Regions from separate parts of the Homo sapiens genome. Here regions 1, 2 and 3 are each linked to region 4. The links are contacts of gene promoters, found by promoter capture Hi-C in blood cells and fetal thymus (Javierre and others, 2016). All regions are on one chromosome and are shown on one strand. Each heading gives the region's core, a stretch centred on a gene start or on the middle of the fragment in contact. The rest is flanking DNA. Distances are from core to core; before and after follow the strand shown.

Region 1 (2,700 bases), core at 81-2,580, 830 kb after region 4:
GTGCTGGGATTATAGGCGCGAGCCACCACACCTGGCCCCAAAATGCTTTTTTGATGGCATATAAACAGCATTTGTGCTGTAATGTAGTATTGAGGCTGTTGGGATAATCGTTTTGTCCTCTTGTGTCTGGTCTCTAGTTTCTCATTTCCTCCAAAGTGCATAGTATATTTTTATTTTTATTTATTTTGTTTTATTATTTATTTATTTGAGATGGAGTTTTGCTCTTGTTGCCCAGGCTGGAGTGCAGTGGCGCGATCTCGGCTCACCGCAACCTCTGCCTCCCAGGTTCAGGTGATTCTCCTGCCTCAGCCTTCCGAGTAGCTGGGATTACAGGCATGCGCCACCATGCCCAACTAATTGGTATTTTTGGTAGAGATGGGGTTTCTCCGTGTTGGTCAGGCTGGTCTTGAACTCCCAACTTCAGGTGATCCACCCGCCTCGGCCTCCCAAAGTGCTGGGATTACAGGCGTGAGCCACTGCACCTGGCCATATTTTTATTTTTTAAATCACTATTTAAAATTGTCATCATTCTCAGATAACATAAGCGTATTGAGATTCTATCAGAAATATCAAATGGCCTCATGGTTAAGGACCCGAAAGGTTTTTCTCTGAGACAACTTTGTGCGGTATTTTCTGTGAATCCCACAGCTGGGGAAAGGAAGGGAGTAAGCCGAAGGGTTTTCAGATGTATGCTAGAGTGTCTTTCATGAAATAAAATGCTGCTCTAGTTGTCAGCTGTTTTTTTGCATACCATTGCTTCTTTAAGTTATCTTTAGATTCCCAGTCTTGAATTTGAAGAGTTTTGGGGAGAAGGTAGCAGAAAACCTAACGTTTTGTTTACATTTCATTTGTTGTATTTAGTAGTAGAGCTGGTCTAAAGTAAATATTACCTTCTCATTTTTGTGAACCTTCATTATTTTTACTTGGTAAGTTAAATGCAACTGCGAAATCAGTACTCCTTTCTTCATAAATTTGAATAGCCTCCATGAAATTGAGTAATCTCATAAAAATTTAAAACTGGTTTTTAAGAACATATTCTGACCACTAAATAAAAGTGCTTCTGTAGTCACATGAGTTAATTTGGGAGGGAGAGAGAACAGTTTAAAGTGTTGCCTAGATAGTAATTAGATAAGAGTGATTGTAATTAAATAATTTTATTTTTAATTTTGCTTAGTAAATTTTTTTTTCAACATGCAGTGAGTTAATTGGTAAGGTCCAGATTAATTTACTAACATATTGCTGCTTTTGGAGTTAAAAATCTTTTCTCAAATCAAAAACTCCTGAACTGTCTGTCTTTATTCTCAGTATTGCTAATGACTAAGCAGATGGCTGCTGTTGAAACTTCTTTTCCTCCACTACCTGTTTCTGTTTATATTCTGATGAATGCAGATAAGTTTTGTGGCATTCTCAGCTGATAGTGTTGACTTCTTGGAAGTTTGGCAAACCTCAGGGAAAATTTTTATTGCAAGTTTTAAAGCTGTTTAGGACTTTATCTAAAAACTTAAGTGTTACGGGATTTCTTCCACATTTTAGAGATGCCTTTATATCCTACATAGTCATCATTTTGTTTTAGCTCCTTGCATACTTAGCAGATTGGGTAGTCTAATCTCCAGTAAAGTTGGAATTGTCATTTTAAAATACTGGAATCACAAAGCAAATGTCTAATTTAAGCACTTAATTTTTAATGTGTGAAATCTGGATATTTTGTGATTTCTGAGCATTTATTTTTCATTTATGTACAGTAAAATTAACAAAATTGCAGATACTCTTAAATGTTGGAATCCTAGTTTTATATTATGTTCAAATGTTTTTTAAGTTGGAGAGCTCTTAATTTTTTATTTGCATGCCAGCAGGGGGCATTCTAATCTAGATACAACATTTGAAAGCAGTATTTTCAAAAAATATTTGTTCGCTTTGTTATATTTTTTATTTAGATGAATAGCATCTACTTTCATTTTCTTTTAGAAACTTGAGATTTCAAAGGAGGATCTAGTAACATTGAATCTTTAATAGTTTTCTGTGTCACAATTTTTGAGACAGATAACCTTTAAAAAAAACTGATGTGTTTGAAATAAGTGAAAAGTAATTTATTTGTTCTTACTGTGTTTAAGAACGTTGTGTTTTTTGATATAGAGACACAGTTGGACATTAAAAAAATATAAAGTAAATGTCCTAAAATTCTTCCTCACCGTTTAGTATCATTGTCCTTTGAAAAAAACACGCACTTTGTTGACAAGGGTAGCTTCTGATTGGGTCATTTATTGGACAGGCTGCCTAGTGTATAATAAGCGTTTTACATACTTCTGGGTTTAATTGAATTAATACTTCAATAAAATTTAGAATACATTTGTCCGCAGTGCTGCCTTCCATTTTTAAGTTCCTTTGCCTCTCCCAGAGCTATCATACATAATCTGTCTCTCTCTTTTTTTCCGTCTTGATATTCATTATGTCTCCTCTTGAATGCACATGTGTTAGAATATAGTCATGTGCCACATAACAACGTTTTGGTCAAGACAAACTTCTCAGATAGCTGTGGTGCTGCTCCCGTAAGATTATAGTGGAGCTGAACGTAACCTTGCAGCATCACAGCACAACACATTACTCACTGCTTTGTGATGATGCTAGTTCAAACAAACCTACTTTGCTGCCAGTTGTTTTAAAAGTACTATATAGTATGTACAATTATGTCCAGTACATAAT
Region 2 (2,700 bases), core at 136-2,635, 840 kb after region 4:
TTGATGACTAGCAGTGAGAAAGAATGGAGCCCTTCTCTGCCCAGGCCCAGAAAACTTGGGGGCAGATATGAGAGTTAAGGGAAATGTGGTTATGAAACCACAGGCTGAAGACCAGCACATGGTTTACCTTAGAACAGTTATTTAATCTTTCTTGTATCCAAATACTGGTATTACCTAGCGTTAAAGACTTACCCCTGATTAGACAGATCTACTCAAAAAACCTACTGTATTCCTCTTCTATGCGAAACATGCTGGGTGACCAAGAGATACATAACCTATTAAAGCCTTGAGAAGGAACAGATTCAGTCAGAGGGGATGTAGTAAGTTAAAATGGTGTTATCCACTCACTAGATGTATGACCTATTTCTGATAAATACATCAAAATACTACTTTCTACATCAAAATACAACTAATAAAATAGAAAAACGGACAAGTATGAATGATGGTTCTTAGGCTACAAGTGGCCTGTAAACAAGAGGTGGAAAAGTTCAAGTCTATTGTTTGCCCAAGAAATGCATTATTAGTGAGAGGTACTATGATCTCTCACTGCCAAAGGGATGATTAGCCATTGGTGGTTTTTAGGGGTTTGCAGTATGTGATGACTTGACATTTGGTAGAGCTGTCCTTATTAGTTAAAGGTGAGGATTTAGCCTTTAATCACTGATTGCCACCTTTTCAAATAAGAGAAGCTCTTAAAAAAAAAAAAAGCAAAAAACTTTGCCAGATCCCCACGTGTTATTATTTCGATATATCCATATATATATGGATATGAAAATATTTGGAATATTTTCACGAAAGCTTTTTAAATGGTTGTATGTTATTAATTGAAACATTGAGTATATTTGAAAAAAGCGTGTTTCAGATACTGGTCAAGATGTTTTGCATTAGAGACAATAGTTGATTACATAGTGAAGCTAAAATGTCATGTCAATTAAAATGTTGTCTTAATACTATTTATGTAAATAACCCTTTGAAATCGAAAACTAGATTCAAGTTATTTTGCAGTACCTTGATCTGTCTAGGGAGGGGAGATTTCTCTCTAAAAATCAGACAAATGGTTTGGCTTTAGATCTTAGGGGTGGTTTACTGTATTGGTGAGAGATAAACAGCTAGAATTATATTAATGTTTCCAGTTTTAGATTTAATTTTCCCATTTACCCAATTATTTCTCACAAGTTTAGAAATACAGTAGAACCATCAGATGTTAGTTACTAGTCATTTGTTCTTAACAAATAACTTAGATTTGCAATTTTTCCATCTGTAGTACATGAATTCTAAAAATTGAGAACCACACAAAAAAGCTACATTTCAAGCCATAGTCTGCAAATCAACAACCTTTTCAAAAATTTGCCTTTTTATTGTCCAGCTTGGGCATTTTTCTGCCTTTCAGCTTGTTACAGAGCATCAGCATAAGTAAAATTACCTCTAAGGTGTGCTGTTTCAGCTCCCAAAGATATTCAGTGCTTTGATTTAAATGTCAATGGCTTCAGATGGTTAACTTTTATTTCTCATTCCAGATGGATTAATTAATGGGTGTTCTAATATGTTATTGTATTCTTTAATTCAAAAATCTATTTCCTATCTCCACCTCACCCATCCTTAATTTCTGAAATGGGGATGCATTTTGTAATGGATAAAAATGTACTTATATATTTGTTATGTCTAAAAAACATTAAGGCAGAGTTATACACTATAACTGGTAGAATCCTAGAACCAAAGAGAAAAGAGTATGCTGAAGATAAGCATACATCACAGTAGCAAGAGAAGGATCAACAGTTTTAATTTTTGTTTTCTCTCTCCCATTTCACAATAACCCTGTTAGTTTTATTTATCAAAGGTCCTCTGAAATAAATAATGCAATTCTTTGCCATGACTGTCTTTGGCACATGAAAGATGTCACTGTAAAATTTCTTTCATGATGCTACAGGTTGAGCTCTTTAAGTGAGCAACACTAGGCTAGTTGGAAGCTTATCAAGGATTCATCAGTGGAGAAATATCCTTTTGATAATACATGTAATAAAATTACTTGAAGTGCTTAGACTTAGGTCTTGTTTATTAAACATGAGTGGAGGTTTCGGGCATCCTTGTAAACTTTCTTCTGTTTCAGGACTTGCTCATAAATTGCTGAGAGACACGTGTGTCGCAATAAAACTTTGCCGTCTTTAAGTCTGAGGTGCTCTGTGTCAGGCATAAAGAACAATACACAACAATTGTTTGCAGTTATCTTAATCTAAAGCTGTAGTTTCATTGAAAATGAACAGGCCATGACTTTTACCAAATACTTCCAGCCTTCCCTTATCTGATAGACCATCTTTTGGAAACAACCAGGTGGATGTTAATGGGAGAAGTAATTCACTAAAAACAGTTAATTCAAAAGCATTGTTTTGGCATCCAAATCCAAAAGCCTTGTTACTGTTTCTAATGTTGAATCACACTACAGATCTTTGAGAAAGTTGGTAACATTGCAGTTCATTTAAAGAAAATGTTGTGGGTAAATCTCCTTTCTGGTTTATTTAGCTTATTCTTTATAACAATTTTTTTAATTAGAGAACATTCCTGTGTGGGTGATTCATGGTGCCTTCTTTTCTCCCCGCCTTCTACCTTTTTAGATCATGAATCGGTTCAGTGGTGTTATGACAACTTCATTAACTACAGGTCCCTGATGTCCGCAGACAATGTACGCCAGCAGCTATCTCGAAT
Region 3 (2,700 bases), core at 35-2,534, 810 kb after region 4:
TTCTGTATTTATGTGATATTTAAGTCCTTTTAAATGTGACTTGTTTGAGTGGGGCTCAGTGGCATATGCCTGTTTATTCCCAGCCACTTCGTAGGCTGAAGCAGGATTATTGCTTGAGGCCAGGAGTTCAAGGCTACAGTGTGCTCTGATCATGCCTGTGATAGCTACTGCATTTGAACCTGAGCAACATAGCAAGACCACATTTCTTTTAAAAAAAAAGAAAAATCATATCTATGTGATCTTCTCCCTGAGGTTTTTAAAAACCATTTTGGAGCGTTGTGTAGGCAGTGATATGAGTCTTTGTTGTCAGAGTCTTTGTTGTCAGAGAGATATATAGTGTTAATGGGATAAATGAAACAAGAGTCTCTCTTTTTTTTTTTTTTTTTTTTTTTTGAGATGGAGTCTCACTCTGTTGCCCAGGCTGGAGTGCAGTGGCGCCATCTCGGCTCTCTGCAACCTCCGCCTCCCGGGTTCAAGCGATTCTCCTGCCTCAGCCTCTCAGGTAGCTGGGACTATAGGTGTGCGCCACCATGCCTGGCTAACTTTTTGTATCTTTAGTAGAGTTGTGGTTTCACTATGTTGGCCAGGCTGGTCTCTAACTCCTGACCTCATGATCCGCCCGCCTCAGCCTCCCACAGTGCTGGGATTACAGGCGTGAGCCACTACACCCAGCCGCAGAAATTGAATAGAATAATGAACTGCATGTGTTTATCATCGACTTTTAACTATTTCAGTCTTATTTATTTCATATCCAATCTTAATTTATTTCCCTGTCCCATGTTATTTCGAAGCAGTCTTAGATACCAAATAATTATATATATAAATATTTCAGTGTGTATCTCTGAGATAGTTTCTTAAAATAGAGCTATCATAACTTAAAACAATTTATTGGATCAAAATATCCAGTTTTCATTCAACATTTGTGTCAGTTTTTTCTAATTCTTTGATTTATCTCATTTTATTAGAACTTTTTATTCAGCGTGATATTTAATAGCAGTTGAACTTTAAAATATTTAAATAAGCTTATCCTTATGACTTTATGGGACATATTTTTGGCTTAAACCTTAATCTTCACTGAATAAATTCTTGTAGTTGTTCAGTGATACGTTATTGATCACTGGTAATTACAGTATAATTGACAATAATTGCATAAGCAAAATCATAGCTCATTATGTTGTATTACTTTAAAATGCAGGTAATGTCAAGGACTTGAGGATAATAAGGGGGAGATTTTACTCATCTTTAGGAGGAATATCATTATTCTGACTTGATTCACATTGCATTGAATTTTTTTGGTAAGCCACAGTTGAGAACAGAATTTGGAAATTGGGATACAAGAAAGTTATGCAATATTGGTGCTGTGTGTATGTGTAGTAGGAAGTGGGTGGAGGATAGGCTTTCAAAAGATGAGTACCTCTGAAAGATTTTGGTTCACTTCATAGGGAATGACAAGTAACAGATTTTATAGTTCAAATGAAGTATTTTTGGCATTGTGATTTTTTTAATGGAGCATTTTCTAGAGGTTATAACTACTTGTAAAAGCTTACTTAAGACAGGGTAAGCTTATTGGGGTTTCTTCTAGGAGCTAACCTGGTGTTGCCTTTAAGTAATATAAGTAAAGGAGTGTATTATTACAATAAGTTAGCTTAAAATTTAAAAATTTCAAATGTAACTTTGCTATTTGATAGGAAGAACTTAACTAATGGGAATGCTTCATTAAATGTAGCTCTTATCATATATAGATATAAAATGCTTATATATCCATTGTGTAGCCAGGGCGAACTTTAATTTTCACTCTAGGGTGGTAAAGAGGCTAACTTAGGCAGATTATGTTTGAGGAGCACAGAATTTAACCATAGTTTGAGAGCATTTTAGCTAAATAAAGTATCTTTAAATTGTCCGCATATAGATTAAGGGTCTATAAGATAGTTTCTTCAGTGTTTGGGATACCTATTCATAAATTTTAGGTTATAGATCTGACACTGTGCTCTTTTCGGAAGATTGGATCTGGTATAACTTAGTGCACACTCTGTTAGTCTAGCCTTAAATGGCTACCCCATCCCAGTGAACAAGTAAGTTTACAAAGCTGCCACTCCTAAATGGTTTTTATATTTCCTTTTTTATGTGTTTGCTTGTCCCCATCCTTTTCTTCTGAAGCATTCTTTTTGCAACATACTTACTTTCCTGTTTTCTTGGAGTGGAAATTATGAAGAAAAAACCCAAAGAGATACCTAAAGAGCTTACCAGTCAGGGAACAATATATTGCTGTATTTGTGACTAGTCAGTGTAAAATACCTTGATTCATTTTGATGTAAGGAAGGAGAGGTTGTTGGCTTCTGGTGTAGCCCTTTTGCAGTGGATTTTAAGAAGCATTTGTCTGTGGTTGTAACTTTTTTTTTTTTTTTTTGGAGACGGAGTCTTGCTCTGTCGCCCAGGCTGGAGTGCAGTGGCACGATCTCGGCTCACTGCAGCCTCCACCTCGCGGGTTCAAGCCATTCTCCTGCCTCAGCCTCCCAAGTAGCTGAGATTACAGGCCCCCGCCACCACGCCCAGCTAATTTTTGTATTTTTAGTAGAGACGGGGTTTCACCACATTGGCCAGGCTGGTCTCAAACTCCTGACCTTGTGATCCGCCCGCCTCTGCCTCCCAAAGTGCTGGGATTACAGGCAGCCGCCACCACGCCCAGCCTGGTTGTAACAT
Region 4 (2,700 bases), core at 162-2,661:
TCCAATATATTCTTCTCCATCTTCACCCATAAACAATGCCCTTGCTTCTTCCTTCACTGAGAAAATGGATGTAACAGTGCCCTCTATCACGCCTACCCATCTGATTGCACGGATGTGCCTCCCGTCTACCTTCCCTCCTACTTCTGTGACGGTACCACCTGCTGCTCTCTAGAGCCACAACAGAGTTTCAAAGCATCCCGGCAGCGGAGGGAGACTAGCTAGATTTCATGGAGGGCCCTGAAAAATTAGACATCAATACCCTGGCGACTGGATCATGGTAGATAACATGGTGCAGACTACAGTCTGCAGGGTGCTAAGATTTCCTTATCACCTAGTTTCCAAATTTGGCTCTATACAACTCTCACATGGCCAGATAACTCTCAAGCCAGAGGCGGAAAGATGCACAGGTGAAGGTTTCCTTACAAAATGGCTGGCAGGTAATAACTCTCAGCAGAAAGTTGGGTACAACTGGTTTATACTCGATGAAGTTTTATGTGAACAAGAAATGCTGATAACACCCATGCACGTTCTGTCTGGAATCCAATGCATGCCTTCCTTGTCCAATTTAGAGGTATTTTTAGTGGAGGGTGGTTATCCAACCCGTACTATAAAACGTGGACAAGAGAAGCCAGGTTCTTAAATATATCCTGTGTGGCAGCTACATGCAGGCACATTTGCAGCTGAAGTTTGACAATAACTCTTCCTACTGCTATTAAAACTGTAAGCAAACTTAGGGCAGGGTCCCTGCATCTACCATTATGTCTAGCTCATGAGCAGCACATAGTGGGCTTTTTTAAAAAGTTCATTTAACTAATAAACCAATGAGTGAAGAAGACTTGGGGAAGCAGGATTGCGTGACGGTGTTAAGCTGTGTGAAAACTGTTACTTTAGCCATAAAAGTACCGAAAATAGCACAGACATCACCTTTCGCATATATACTTAAAGTTTACTGCCGTCCTGGGAGGCAGGGAAGGGGTAGCAGGTGGCCAGCCATGTCTGCAGAAGGGGAAACTGAGGCTCCGGCCGCCTGTGGCCCGAATGAACAGGCTCGGGCTCGGTGTTCTTGGGCCCCCCGGGAGCAGACCCAGCACAGGCGGGCTCCCGCCGGCTCACTCACCTCGCCAGCTGTGTTGGCCAAAGCAATGAGATCCCGCTTGGGCGACCAGACCAGGAAAATAATCTCCTGCGGGAGCTGCTTCTCTCCCACCACCCGGAAGGATGGGAAACAGGTCGGAAAACGCAACATGGGGACGGCCCTGCAACGACACCCCAGTCAGAGGCCGGCAGGAGCCCCCGGCTCTCCACGAGGAGCCCCGACCGCGCCTGTACCTGCAAGAGTCCCCACCGGCAGACTAACACGGCCCCAGTGGCCTCTCCCCTCCCTCTGCCGGCCGCGCGCCACAGCCTCCAGGCCGCCCCGCCCCGCCGCTGTCGCGCGCTCCAGGCACTTCCGGCGTCGGGACTGCCTCGCGAGAGGAGGAGGAGGGGCGGGGCGCGCACCGGTCTTGGGGGTGCTGAGAGCCAGAAGGGGCGGACAGGGACGGGGCGCGGTGGGCGGGGCAGGGAGGAGCGAGGGGCGGATCGAGGTGGGGGTAGGATGGGGCCCGTGGGCGGGGCAGGGAGCAGCGATGGGGCAGAGCTAGGAAGGGTGGGGCACGCGGGCGGGGCAGGGAGCCCCGAGGGGCGCGGAGAGGGAGGGAGCCGCGCGCCGGACCCAGGTGCTGGTGGGATCGCTGGGCGCCGGGACCTGAAAGGGCCCGAGAAGGGCGGGGCAGGCCCCTGCGGCCACACGCAGGTCTTTTGGGAACCCGTGTGTGCACGTGTGTGGGCATGCTTGCATACCTTTCCCGTTTTCCCGGAAATTCTCTGCTGTGGGCAAAGGGACGGTAGGGGTTTATGGGGTAGGCTTCAGCGACAACGGGGAGATGAAAAAGAATATGAACTTTAGGTCCTGATCAGCTGGCGCCTCCTCTAACAGTTACTAAGCGAGTAGTTCTCATGTCAGTCCTGGTGGGTCAGTATAGAATTTTAAAAGTCCCCCTGTCCAAGCAGCACCCCAAACCAATTAGAAGAAAATTAACCCTGGATGGGCCCAGTATTTACTAAAACTCTTTGGGTGATTCCAATTTGGAGAGAAGAGGCGCGTGCCCTAAAACCTCCCTAACAGGCAAATAATACTGTGACATCTCATCCCATTTAACCCTCACAACTTATTGGTAGTTGCAGCACCGTCATAACGAATAAAGAGTGTGGGCTCAGGGCCGGGCGCGGTGGCTCACGCCTGTAATCCCAGCACTTTGGGAGGCCGTGGCGGACGGATCACAAGGACAGGAGATAGAGCCCATCCTGGCTAACATGGTGAAACCCCGTCTCTACTAAAAAATACAAAAAAGTAGCCAGGCATGGTGGCGGGCACCTGTAGTCCCATCTACTGGGGAGGCTGAGGCAGGAGAATGGCGTGAACCCGGGAGGCGGAGCTTGCAGTGAGGCGGAGCTTGCAGTGAGGCGGGGCTTGCAGTGAGGCGGAGCTTGCAGTGAGCCGAGATTGTGCCACTGCACTCCAGCCTGGGCAACAGAGCCAGACTCCGTCTCTAAAATATAAAAAAAGAGTGTGGGCTCACACACGATTTCTTCTATAGGTACTTGGGCATTTACTATGTGGAGGAACTGAGGCTACAGCAATGCATGGGACGGGAACTC

Evidence for each region. Contacts are between HindIII fragments. The CHiCAGO score rates a contact against its expected background, and 5 or more counts as called.
Region 1: a contact is called between a fragment that was not itself captured here and the fragment with the promoter of ANAPC4 in region 4, in 6 of 17 cell types (fetal thymus, naive CD4 T cells, total CD8 T cells and 3 more). The highest score is 9.0, in fetal thymus.
Region 2: a fragment that was not itself captured here is called in contact with the fragment with the promoter of ANAPC4 in region 4 in 1 of 17 cell types (megakaryocytes); the score reaches 5.5 in megakaryocytes.
Region 3: a fragment that was not itself captured here is called in contact with the fragment with the promoter of ANAPC4 in region 4 in 3 of 17 cell types (fetal thymus, non-activated CD4 T cells and total CD8 T cells); the score reaches 6.6 in fetal thymus.

The regions. Positions count from the first base shown.
Region 1 is chr4:24,550,829-24,553,528 of GRCh38, reverse strand. The region is part of intron 5 of DHX15 (DEAH-box helicase 15); the gene reads left to right. Among named protein-coding and RNA genes, the nearest start is that of MIR573, 32 kb to the right of the region's middle. RefSeq lists an enhancer at 1-339. The HindIII fragment of the contact is 3,436 bases long and covers 1-2,700 here.
Region 2 is chr4:24,532,964-24,535,663 of GRCh38, reverse strand. It overlaps DHX15 (DEAH-box helicase 15), which reads left to right. Exons shown (of 14, transcript NM_001358.3): 12 at 2,610-2,700. Among named protein-coding and RNA genes, the nearest start is that of MIR573, 14 kb to the right of the region's middle. The HindIII fragment of the contact is 1,169 bases long and covers 801-1,969 here.
Region 3 is chr4:24,567,285-24,569,984 of GRCh38, reverse strand. The region is part of intron 3 of DHX15 (DEAH-box helicase 15); the gene reads left to right. Among named protein-coding and RNA genes, the nearest start is that of DHX15, 16 kb to the left of the region's middle. The HindIII fragment of the contact is 520 bases long and covers 1,025-1,544 here.
Region 4 is chr4:25,375,974-25,378,673 of GRCh38, reverse strand. ANAPC4 (anaphase promoting complex subunit 4) reads right to left here and starts at 1,411. Exons shown (of 29, transcript NM_013367.3): 1 at 1,330-1,411; 2 at 1,118-1,256. The coding sequence starts at 1,246. RefSeq lists enhancers at 1,009-1,078, 1,109-1,168 and a silencer at 1,289-1,708. The HindIII fragment of the contact is 5,076 bases long and covers 1-2,700 here.